Linked DNA regions of Homo sapiens: regions 1 and 3 are each linked to region 2. Evidence: promoter capture Hi-C in 16 types of primary human blood cells and fetal thymus (Javierre and others, 2016). All regions are on one chromosome and are shown on one strand. The core of a region is centred on a gene start or on the middle of the fragment in contact, and the rest is flanking DNA. Distances in the headings are between cores, read along the strand shown. Region 1 overlaps LOC105378927 (a long non-coding RNA gene). Region 2 holds the start of CD58 (CD58 molecule). Region 3 has its middle 68 kb from the start of PTGFRN.

The links. Contacts are between HindIII fragments. The CHiCAGO score rates a contact against its expected background, and 5 or more counts as called.
Region 1: a contact is called between a fragment that was not itself captured here and the fragment with the promoter of CD58 in region 2, in 4 of 17 cell types (M1 macrophages, erythroblasts, M2 macrophages and 1 more). The highest score is 7.7, in M1 macrophages.
Region 3: a fragment that was not itself captured here is called in contact with the fragment with the promoter of CD58 in region 2 in 3 of 17 cell types (M1 macrophages, M2 macrophages and M0 macrophages); the score reaches 8.2 in M1 macrophages.

Annotation. Positions count from the first base shown.
Region 1 is chr1:116,880,976-116,885,361 of GRCh38, forward strand. LOC105378927 (a long non-coding RNA gene) reads left to right here. Exons shown (of 3, transcript XR_001737804.2): 2 at 1,576-1,692; 3 at 4,298-4,386. Among named protein-coding and RNA genes, the nearest start is that of PTGFRN, 27 kb to the right of the region's middle. The HindIII fragment of the contact is 245 bases long and covers 1,291-1,535 here.
Region 2 is chr1:116,569,610-116,573,524 of GRCh38, forward strand. CD58 (CD58 molecule) reads right to left here and starts at 1,417. Exons shown (of 6, transcript NM_001779.3): 1 at 1,294-1,417. The coding sequence starts at 1,363. LOC124904385 (a long non-coding RNA gene) reads left to right here and starts at 1,366. Exons shown (of 2, transcript XR_007066497.1): 1 at 1,366-1,444. RefSeq lists an enhancer at 489-548 and silencers at 1,019-1,088, 1,159-1,618. The HindIII fragment of the contact is 6,609 bases long and covers 1-3,655 here.
Region 3 is chr1:116,840,234-116,844,427 of GRCh38, forward strand. No RefSeq gene overlaps it. Among named protein-coding and RNA genes, the nearest start is that of PTGFRN, 68 kb to the right of the region's middle. The HindIII fragment of the contact is 154 bases long and covers 2,009-2,162 here.

The sequences.
Region 1 (4,386 bases), core at 163-2,662, 310 kb after region 2:
AATGAAATGGTGAATGGAATTGCGCTCAGAGTATTGCTGCCAAGGTGCTAGAATGGTGTATGTAACAGACACAGGCCAAGGAGGCTGAGCAGCAGACTTGCAGAGTCAACATTTTTAACTTGGTAACAGATGGCCCACTGGTCAGAGCTCAAAAGGCTTGGGCTCCGTAAACCAACAGGACCCAGGCATATGATTCAAATGTTCTCAGTAACCAGAGGGACCGCTACTGTCCACTTGCCAAGGGCTGTGGTGACATGTGTGAATATGCAAGAGACGGGAATTATTTATCTTCCCCTAACCTCGATATTTCATTAGCCTCAGATAGAGACTGCTTTTTTTTTTTTTTTTTTTTTTTGAAACGGAGTTCCGTTCTTGTTGCCTAGGCTGGAGAGCAATGGTGCGATCTTGGCTCACTGCAACCTCTGCCTCCTGGGTTCAAGTGATTCTCCTGCCTCAGCCTCCCAAGTAGCTGGGATTACAGGCGCCTGTCACCACACCCAGCTAATTTTTGTATTTTTAGTAGAGATGGGGTTGCATTATGTTGGTCAGGCTTATCTCGAACTCCTGACCTCAGGTGATCCACCCACCTCGGCATCCCAGAGTCCTGGTGTTACAGGCGTGAGCCACCGCACCTGGCCGAGACTTCTAAAACTCTGAATCACCACTGACTGTATTCCCAACTCCATCTGGACTCAGCCCTTCCGAAATAATGAGAAAACCTCCCTATCTAGGGTATGCTTAGACAAGATGAGATTCAGCTTAAACCCTGGTAATAATTATCATTCTCCCCGTATCCCGAAAGCTCAATCCTGGTTGCTAAGTCAATCCAGACAGGCAAAGGGGTTTAAGAAAGCCAGGACTAGGGAGAGACAAGTGAGGTGCCTAGTGGGCAAAATTGAAGGAGGCATCACTTGCAAGTGCCGGCCCTGCACTTGTGTGACCCTGAGAATGAGGGCCTCCTTACATTTTGTGCCCTGAGCATCTCACTTGCTCACCCTGCTGGCCTTGCCCTAATGTCGCAGCAAAGCTCTGGCTTAGTCATTGCTGTCCTTATCAACTCCCTGCCCCTGTTAGGCTTAGAATAACTAGTTGAACCTAGGTCCTTGACCTTGGCAGGTGAAGAAATGGGCCACATCCACTAAGGTAGCAGTAGTAGAAGGGCATAGGCTGATAGCCTTCACAGGACCAGGTGGAAAGTGGAAGCCCATGTTCTCCAACCAACTGTGGACAAACAAAAGGACCAAACAGCCAGAACTGTAACTTCAATACGCACTGGCACTTGTGTTTTTAAGCTTGCCGAGAGAATTAACGTTCAACAGCTGTGCGTATTCACACTGCTGAATGCATATTACACAATATTCTCAGACATTCTCCTACGCAGAGCAGCAGTATTGGCCCATCGGGTGATTCATGAGTTTCCAACACAAGCCGCCAGAGAAAGGGAGCTATCAAGATTTTGGTGATGAGAGAGAAGCTGTAGCACATGGTAAAAGAAGAAGACAAACTGGATATCTTTTCAGGCTGGATCAAGAAAAAGCTTTGACAGAATGAGACATGATTTTCCTTTATTTGAAGTGTTGCAGGTCTACGGATCTCGGTGCAATTTGTTCAGTATATGGAGCAATGCAATGAGTATTCCAACCCTGAACAGCTGGGAAAGGAGAAAGATGTGAAAAATGAGGAGGGATCCAGGTGAGTTCACACTTGAATAATAGATTCTCTTGGTAATAAAACCACAGAGAGAGCCAGTGCTTGCCCAGATCTAGAGCTATCAAGAACTCCATTGAAACTCTACCGGCTTACAGTTCCTTCTATGCCACCTTAAGCACACCTATTCTGAGAGCATGGCTCTCCTTTTCTGTTGTCTGAGTCAGTGGCTGCCAACACAGGTGTGTGCACACAAATCTATTGGGGTACCAAAAAAAGAATTATATTTAATAATTATTTGTCTTCATCTGGCTAAATTTCTATTCTTGAATAGGTTTTAGGATGTACATCATATATTAGTACAGCAGTGATAAGTATTCATTTTGACAGAAAAATGCTAAAAAAAAATTCATACTAATGGGTCACATGATCAAAAATGCTTGGAAGAAGGCCAGGCGTGGTTCCTCCTTCCTGTAATCCTAGCACTCTGGGAGGCAGAGGCAGGTGGATACCTGAAGTCAGGACTTTGAGACCAGCCGGCCAACATGGCAAAATCTCATCTCTACTAAAAATACAAAAATTAGTCGGCTATGGTGGCATGAGCCTGTAATCCCAGCTACTCGGGAGGCTGAGGCATGAGAATCACTTGAACCAAGGAGGCGGAGGTTGCAGTGAGCCAAGATCACACCACTGCACTCCAGCTTGGGTAACAGAAGGACTCCATCTCAAAAAAAAAAAAAAAAAAAAAAAAGCTTGGAAGTCACTAAGCAAGAAACTCCTGACTGGGCGCAGTGGCTCACATCCATAATTCCAGCACTCTGCAGGGCTGAAGTGGGAGTATTGTTTGAGGCCAGGAGTTCAAGACTAGCCTGGACAACACAGTGGGACCCAGTCTCTATACACAGTGGGACCCAGTCTCTATAAAAAATTTAAAAATTAGCCGGATATTGTGGCACACACCTGTGGTCTCAGCTACTCAGGAGGCTAAAGCAGGAGGATCACTCAAGCCTGGGAAGTCAAGGCTGCAGTGAACCATGACTGTGCCACTGCACTCCAGCGTGGGTGACAGAGTGAGACCCTGTCTCAAAAAACAAAACAAAAAGAAACTCCTTAGCTTGATGTTCTGGGCCCTCTGCAACTTGCTTATTCAACCTCCCCTCCTGCTATTTCATCCCTATACTACCCACTGTAATAAAATGGATCTGGTCATCCAGTAATTCCTGTTTTTTTTTTTTTTAAACTTCCTCTCTCTGTATCTTGGCTGCTGGAATACCAGCAAATGAGGAGAGCTAATGAAGTCTCTTGGATACATTGAGCCTACAATCATTTTACTAGCAGAAATTTCAGCCCTGTCCAGGATACCCCTTCCTAGATAAGCTCTCCAGGGATAACTATCTTGTTCATAATTCTCAGTGAAACAACCTACTGCTGTCTGCCAGAGAGAAGTGGTGGCTCAGATGTATTCAACTTTCTTTCTTTTTTTTTTTTTGAGATGGAGTTTCACTCTTGTCACCAAGGCTGGAGTACAATGGCGCAACCTCAGCTCACTGCAACCTCTGCCTCCCAGGTTCAAGTGATTCTCCTGCCTCAGCCTCCCCAGTGGCTGGGATTACAGGCACGTGCCACCACGCCTGGCTAATTTTTGTATTTTTAGTAGAAATGGGGTTTCACCATGTTGGCCAGGCTGGTGTCAAACTCCCAACCTCAGGTGATCTGCCCATCTCGGCCTCCCAAAGTGCTAGGATTACAGGCATGAGACACTGTGCCCAGCCAGATGTTTTCAACTTTCATGAACAAACATTACAACTACTGCCACCCCCACTGGCAGCTATCCCCACTGCTTGGTAGACTAAAGACATCAACATCATTGGAATTAATACTAACTGTGTACCCTGCCACACCAGTGTTGGTGCTAAGACCTTGGCAATACAAAGGAAAAATGATTCCAGGAAGTACAGTATGGAGATCCAGAAAACACCCTCTATCTCTATAATTTACTCAGCCAGGGATTTCCCAAAGCCAAACTGCTGGTAGCAAGGGTGCTGCATGTTTCTGTAGTTTGTACATGGCACAGTGGTGCCAGGCAGGCAGTGGATCAAGCCCTCAATCCAGGGACTTTTCTTAAGGTATCCTAAGGCAGATTGCATTTTCCAAAGATGGCAGCCACAGTATCTCCCATCCCTCAAGCTCTTCTGACAATGTGACATTGACACTTCTCCTGTGGAGTGGTGAGGTCAAATGACCTCTCCTTGTAAACTTGGGCGGATCTTTGTGATTTCTTTGACCAATAGAGTATGGTAGAAATTATGGTTTGTGATTTCTGAGGCTAGGCCATAAAAATGCCATGTACTTCTACAAGGATCTCACTCACATACTCATCACCTGTGCCACATAGCACAATATGCCCCAGATGAGCTGTGTGACTGTGGGCAAGCTGCCTAAGTTCTTGGAGCCTCAATTTCCTCTTTCATAGAATAGGGATAAGATTAATCCCTACTTCACAAGGATTACATAAATTAATCCATGCAAGTGCATAGTATAATGCCTAGCATATAGTAAGCCCTCAATGTTAGCAATTATTATCATGTGGCATTTGGTAGGTGGCCAATTAATATTTGTTCATTGATTAATTAAATTGCACTGTACACAGGTGGAAAGAAGATGAAGATCCAATTTTTATCCAATGGCACAGAAGGCTCTTCATGTCCATGCTCTGTTAATGTCACCTTCCCCAAGCCG
Region 2 (3,915 bases), core at 167-2,666:
TTTTTTTTTTTGAGACAGGTCATATTCTGTCACCCAGGCTGGAGTTCAGTGGCACAATCACAGCTCACTGCATCCTCTGCCTCCGGGACTCAGGTGATTCTCCCACCTCAGCCTTCCGAGTAGCTGGGACTATAGGTATGCGCCACCACGCTCAGCTAATTTTTGTATTTTTTGTAGAGCCGATCTTTCACCGTGTTGGCCCTGCTGGTCTCCGATTCCTGGCCTCAAGTGATCCACCTGCCTCAGCCTCCCAAAGTGCTAGGATGACAGGTGTAAGCCACCACGCCCAGCCCAGGCCTCTTACAACACTGACTTATCTGATCGTGCGGGTACTTTTGAGTCTATCTCAACCCCTCCCCCTTGGCTGTCTTCCATAGATGCACACGCGCACCTCCCGGGCAGGCAGCGGACGCTGAGCAAACGGACGGACGGGCTGGAGGGCTGGCAGTGGGGTGCAGGAGCCAGCCATGAGAACCCCTCAAGTACAGTTGAACTCGCTGGGAGGTTACTGCTGTACTCCCGGGGTTTTGCTATGGCCTGACTGGGGCCAATGTGTGGAGGGTGAAGGAGGATGGGGAGGCAAAATGGGAAGAAGGGGACCTATTTCCTGAGGTTGTTGTGACGACTTGGCTGACAACACACGGAGAGGATGGAACCAGTTCTGATACTAGTTTTTAGGATTTGAGGGGAGGAAAAAGGAGCAGGAGTCGCACCACTTAGGAATCCCAACGTGAGGCCGCTGCCGACTGGGCTTCCTAGTTGCCTACCCGCTCCTCGCTGTGGGGCGATTCTGAAAAGTCCTCTCTGCTGATACGGCGGACGCCGCGCGGGCGGGGACGGCACCGCGCGGGGAGGGCAGCAGGCGTCGCCCTCGAGCAGGTGGCATCCGCGCCCGCTCCCCGTCCCGGGCGCGTTCACGGCTGGGAAAAATTTTGCAGTCCGCTGAAGCGCTCAGCGACGTTACTGGGGAAGCCCAGGAAGGAACTTGGTCACTGGAGCTCGGGAGGGGGCCGGCGGGGGGGCGCAGGCCCCGCAGGAGAGGCTAGCGGGCCGGAGCCCGTCCTTCCCTAAGGCCACACAGTTCCTTGCTGACTCCATGAGGGACACTGGCGATGAAATAACAACTTTCTCTTCCTGAAAAGGCTCCCACGGCTGAGTTGTTCCCGGCCCACAGCGACCCGTCCCCACCCGTCTCTGATCGGCAACCGCCTCGAGCCCGGCGCGTCCACCCAGCCTGGGTGCTGCCCAGTACCCGCCGGCCGGCGCGGGGCCCCTGGGGCAGGCTTCACTCACCAAAGCAGTGCAGCAGGCAGACCACGCTGAGGACCCCCAGGGCCCGCCCCGCGTCGCTCCCAGCAACCATGGCTCGTCGGGCCGGCCTCTGCGCGAGTGCCCAGCCACAAGCAGCCCTAAGTTCAAGCACCGCCTACGCGGTCGGCCAGAAGTAGGGCTCCGCCCCGCCCTGGGCTGGCAGCCGGCGGCCCGCCCCGGCCCTTCCTCCCCCACCCTCCGCGGCGCCGCGTTTGTCTTCGCGCTTCCACTCCCCGGGCGCGCCTCTGGCCTCGGCTCTGCGCGCCTCCTTCCTGTGTCCCCGGGGCGCCGTCCAGTCCCCCAGCTCGGTCCCTCCCGTCATTCCGCCGCCATTCCATACGCTATTTTTAAGTAAGAAATTCTTTCCTTGAAAATGGCTTGGTTTTAAAAACCAAGGTTTTAAAGTAAGAAATTCTTTCCTTGAAAATGGCTTGGTTTTAAAAACCAGGTTTCTCTGCCTTCCTACCGCACCTCCCGCGCTTCCCCTTAGCGTTTGGGGCGTGCTGTAGGCCCCTCCGTGGCTAGACGGGGCTGTGGCTCCCAGAGAGCCACCGGAGGAGGCAGCAGGACGGGCGGGAGCACCCGGGGCCCCTCATCCCTTCAGCGCTGTGTGATCCCGCATCAGACGGCCTCTTTGAACCACTTTTCCTCAAACATGACAAGGAAAGGGAGCATTTTAGACAACTGTTAGGCGTAGGGTTACCTGAGGCAGGCCTCCCCCGTCCCCATACTCCCTTATCCCCGGAGCTGGGATTTCCAGCCTTTGGTTTCTCCCTTCTCAGATTCCTCTTTTTCTGTCTTCCCCCATCTCAACCGGGACTTTCCCTCAGGCTGAGATGTCAGATCCACATCTCCCTCACTGCCCAGCCTCCCCACATCCATCCAGCCCAAGCTGAGGCAGGCACTCATCACTCTCCCCGCTCTTCATCAGTCTGGATTGAGCTGGCCCTCCCCTCACATCCCTATATCCCAGAACAAATGACCCTATTCCCAGAACCAGCTCCTCACATCAGCCTCCCTGTCTGTCCCCTTTCTTGCAGACAGAAGCACCAGAGTTGCCCCTGCCCAGCTGAGGGAGTTCACAGAACTCTTAGTTATTATGTGAGCAGGAATCCATTTCCATGAACAGGACTCCCTGCTGCCCAAATAACCACCAACACATACATGGTGCAGGTTGTGAAACTGAGTGGGAATGTGCTTTCTTGCTGCTTCACCTCCATTATCCCCAGGTGGGGACTCGAAGTCACTCAAGACACTTGAACCATATTGCAAAGAGACATGAATTATTTCTTAAGTTAGCCATAAAATCTTAAAAGGTATCTCTATCAGTGAAACTTCTGGGACCAATGCCCTCTACCACAAACCTGCTATCTCGAGATATTCCCTACCATCTGTAGATACTGGGAACACAAGGCAGGGGCAGTGTGTAACATAAAATATGAGGAAATCAAGTGTTCTCTGCCCTGGGCTGGTAGGAACTCAGGCCAACTTAGAAAGGCAGGATGGGGTTAGACCTTCAGACACTGGGGAGCCACAGAAAGTTTTTGAGCTGGGAAGTGATATGACAGCAAACATCTATTGAGCAGGCCCTGTGTGAAGTGCATTGCTTGGATTAACTTAGTCTTACTGCTGCTGTTGTTTTTGCAAATGAGGAAACTGATGCCTGGGGAAGGTAAATTACTCAGGGCACACAGTAAAGGGCAGAACTTGGAGTCCAGCTGAGGCCATGTCCAATGCCTCTACTCTTATCCCTTCATACAGGAACGGGATATGATAATGGGACTTTTGGACTGACAGCTATGCAGCCATTTGGACTGCCAGCAAGAGCTGTTAAGCCCCTTAAGAGCAGGGCTGAGGAAAGAACAGCCCAGTCACATGGGGCTGGGGAAGCCCCTCACCCCCAGGTCATGGTCTCCAGGTATTGGGTGAGGAATAACTCATTAGGCTTCCTTGGTTGGACTCTCCTTTGACCAAGGAGCAGTGCCTGCTCTTTCATTGAGAGAAATGCTGTCCATCAAGCACTTTTAGAAGCCCTCAAATGCCTGGTTAATTTTATGAATCAAAAGCAGCTCAGGAATGCTGGACCTGCAATGCGTTAAGCAGGCAGCCAAAAAGATTCCCTTTACATACTGAGAACCTGCTATCAAAAGGAGGGGTGGATGTATTTTTCATGCTGTGACTAGTATTGCAAGGTCCAGTTTTATCTTCTTGTCACTGTAGATAATCATGGATGAGAAAGTAAGAAAAGAGGGCAGCTGAAGAGGCCGGGGCTGTTCTTCCTAGCATGCCACTCTCTGGTGTCTTGACTCTCGTTTCTGCCAAACCTTTGGAACTACTCCCACAAAGCTTAGGAATCCCAGAATGTAGTGAGCAAAACACTGCTCAATCCTGCATAAATGCAAATTGTCATTTTCATTGCATGCCTCATGAGGGAACATACATTCATTTATATAAATACTGGTTGGATTTGCACGAAGGACATAGAAGGGTAATCTTATTCCATAATACTCTATTTCCCTTTTTAAAACATACCCTGGCAGAAAAAGAACATTAGAAAAAAATTAGGAAAAATTATACATAAGACTTAACATGGAACCATTATGG
Region 3 (4,194 bases), core at 836-3,335, 270 kb after region 2:
TATGAATGATACTTCTTTTCTTTTTTGTACTTTCTATATTTTTTAATTTTCTAAAAATAAAATGAAAAGGCATAAAAATAATAAAAGAAATGCAAACAAACTGGTTGAAACTCCTAGGGTTTCATAAATATTGTCTCATTTAATCCTCACAACATCTCTATGAGACACAAATTATTTTTCTTATTTTCAAATGGGGAAACTGAGGCTAGGGCTGTTAAACTCTTTAAGGTCATGCAGCTATAAGTGAATTAATTGGATCTTGAGCCGAGGTCTTTTGACTCTAGATTTCATGCTCCTTCTTCCACATCCCGTTGCCTCTGCAAGAACCACATATTCTTCTAACAGCTAAAATAACGGGATATGTTAGAAGGAAAGCCACTGGTCCTCTTCTGCTATTAGCCAGAATGAGTGAAGAACTTCAAACTCCAATAAGTGCCCTGGAAAGTGTAGTAGGTCATACCAGACGACGAGACAGGTGACTCAGGATACTTGACGCCTATCAAAAAATGACCAGGGCTTGCCCGCGGACTCGAGGGACCCTCAGATCAGAGCCTAGAAGAACTAGGTCCTTATTTATAAAATCTCTTCTGTATAGTACATATAATGCATAAGTATACATGCAATCTTGATCTGTCACCTACGTAGGGAAGGCCTTTGAGGTCTTTATTCCAGCTACTATTTCTGAGATATAAATTAGTCCAAAACAACACCTTAAAACTACTATATTATTTTGTGGGGTTTTTTTGTTGTTGTTTTGTTTGTTTGTTTGTTTGTTTGTTTTTGAGACAGAGTCTCGCTCTGTCGCCCAGGCTGGAGTGCAGTGGCCCGATCTTGGCTCACTGCAACCTCTGCCTCCCAGGTTCAAGCAATTCCCTGCTTCAGCCTCCCGAGTAGCTAGGATTACAGGTGCCCACCACCACGCCTGGCTAATTTTTGTATTTTTAGTAGAGACAGGGTTTCACCATCTTGGCCAGGCTGGTCTTGAACTCCTGACTTCGTGATCCACCTGCCTCGGCCTCCCAAAGGGCTGGGATTACAGGCGTGAGCCACCGTGTCCAGCCTTTTTTTAGTTTTTTTTTGAGACAGAGTCTGGCTCTGCTGCCCAGGCTGTAGTGCAGTAGCAGGATCTCGGCTCACTGTCACCTCCACCTCCTAGGTTCAAGCAATTCTCCTGCCTCAGCCTCCTGGGTAGCTGAGATTACAGGCACCTGCCCCCATGCCTGGCTAATTTTTTTAGCAGAGATGGGGTTTCACCATGTTGGCCAGGCTGGTATGAAACTCCTGACTTCAGGTGATCCACCCGCCTCTGCCTCCCAAAGTGTTGAGATTACAGGCATGAGCTACTACACCTTACCAAAACTACCATATTATTTCACTCATGATTTTGTGGGTCAAAAATTTTGAAAAGGCTGTGCCTAGGACTTCTCACTTGGCATCTCTCTTGTGGTTACAGTCAGATGTTACCTGGAGCTGAAGTCATCTGAAGATTCAACAGGACTGGATGTCCAGCATGTCTCATTCACATGATTGGCAGGTGATGGTGGCTGATTAAGCTGTCAACTGGGGAACTCACATGTGGCCTTTCCCATATAGCTAACTCAGGGTAGTTGGACTTCATACCTAGCATCTAGCTTCCCTCAGGACAAGCATCTCATAAGAACCAGGCAGTAGCTGCAAGACTTTTTCTGACATGGCTGAAGAAATCACGTAGCACACTTCTACTTCATTGTATTGGTTACAAATGAATAATTAGACAGACTAGATTCAAGGGGAAGGGAAGTAGGCTCTACCTCTTGATGGAGTAGTACAAGGTCACATTGTGAAAGAGCACACGAGGTGAAAAATGTTGTTTCAGCCACCTTTAGAACATAAAATTTGCCTCAGTCATTTAATCCAGTGTTTCCCAACCTTTGTCACCTCATAGCACACACTGAAAGCATTAATATGTATATGGCTTATGACATGTCAGTTGGAAAGCTCTGACAAGCTAACTATCTGTGATTAAGAAAGCTTCCTTTCCTTACTTTATAGCTAGTGTGCATTCAAGGGCAAGATTTCTCACATGTTTCAGGGTAATTCTTGAACTAACAGAAAAAAAACCTTCCCAGTTCTGATCCCTTTATGTTATAAGTATCTATGCTATAAGGATTTTTGTGTCCAGAAGCTTTGAGATAGTTTTTCATCTTTCCTCCTCTAAACACTAAAGGAAAGATAGCATACATTCTTTATACACTGGATCAGTTAAAAATATATGCTACCAATCAAAAAGAATAATAACTGTAGCAGATTGAACACTTCAAACATGTTTAAATTCATGAGTTCATAATGCTTTTAAAACAATTACGACAGAAATTATTAGAGTACTCTTTGGAAGTTTCCAGGACCCTAACTTATTTAGAAAACTGGAGAATAAAGGGACAGACCAAGCATTTGTCCTGCCTTTCCTGTATGAACTATGCTTCACAGTATGCCAGGTATCAATGTGCTATCTCTCAGCTCAAAGCCCACTCTTTGCTCTGCTTTGCAATTCTGGTGCTGTACCCTGTAAACATTTCTCCTATCAACAGCTGACATAATGTTAAACATTTTTGCCAGTGGAGGGTGCTGGAGGGAAATTGCAGGAGGAAGGAGTTTTTCTGGCTCAGTGTGCTTTCCTCCTTGCTCCTGCAGTGCACAACGACCAACAGTGTGGCGGATGCCCCAGTTAGTTTTAGCAGTACACTTGCGGATAACTTTTTTTTTTTGAGACGGAGTCTCACTCTGTTGCCCAGGCTGGAGTGCAGTGGAATGATCTCTGCTCACTGCAACCTCCACCTCCAGGGTTGAAGCAACTCTCCCTGTCTCGGCCTCCCAAGCAGCTAGAACTACAGATACCTGCCACCATGCCCAGCTAATTTTCGTATTTTTTAGTAGAGACCAGATTTCACTATATTGGCCAGGCTGATCTTGAACTCCTGACCTTAGGTGATCTGCACATCTTGGCCTCCCAGAGTGCTGGGATTACAGGAATGAGCCACCATGCCTGGCCTTGTGGAGAACTTTCTATCAAGCTTTGTCAGCCCCACAGTGGGCATGTGATGGTTAACACTTAGTGTGAACTTGATCGGATTAAAGGATGCAAAGTATTGTTTCTGGGTGTGTCTGTGAGGGTGTTGCCAAAGGAGATTAACATTTGAGTCAGTGGGCTGGGGAAGGCAGACCCACCCTTAATCTGGCGGGCACAATCTAATCAGCTGCCAGCGCAGCTAGAATAAAGCAGGCAGGAGAAGATAGACAAGCAGGCTTGCCGAGTCTTCTGGCCTTCTTCTTTCTCTTGTGCTGAATGCTTTCTGCCTTTGAACATCAGACTCCAAGTTCTTCAGCTTTTGGACTCTTGGACTTACACCAGTGATTTGCCAGGGGCTCTCAGGCCTTTGGCCACAGACTGAAGACTACACCGTCAGCTTCCTTATTTTTGAGGTTTTGGGACTTGGACTGATCCACCAATGGCTTCCTTGCTCCTCAACTTGCAGATGGGACTTTACTTTGTGATCACATGACTCAATTCTCCTTAATAAACTCCCTTTCATATATACATCTATCCTATTAGTCCCTCTGGAGAACCCTGACTAACACAGGGCATTTCCCTGCTTGCCAGCTCTAGCCTAAGGTACTTCAGTGAACATCTCCACTATTCAATCTCCACTCTCCATGGAACAGTCACACTCTCTCCATCATTGGGAATGAGGGACTGTCTTCCAGTTTGTTATTTCCTTGAGTGCTCTGACTGCACTCTAGAAGTAGTGGCTGTTCTCTGTTTCTGCTATTCCTGTATTCTTTAGAGTTCCTTAATCTCTATTTAATAATTTATGTTAAAATTTACCTATTTTAAGGCCAGGCACAGTGGCTCACACCTGTAATCCCAACACTTTGGGAGGCCGAGGCGGGTGGATCAATGAGGTCAGGAATTCGAGACCAGCCTGACCAACATGGTGAAACTCTGTCTCTACTAAAAATACAAAAATTAGCTGGGTGTGGTTGCAGCCACCTGTAATCTCAGCTACTAGGAAGGCTGAGGCAGGAGAATCTCTTGATCCCAGGAAGAAGAGGTTGCAGTGAGCCAAGATCACGCCATTGCATTCCACCCTGGGCGACAGAGTGAGACTCCATCTCAAAAAAATAAATAAAATAAAATTTACCTATTCTAAGCATCGT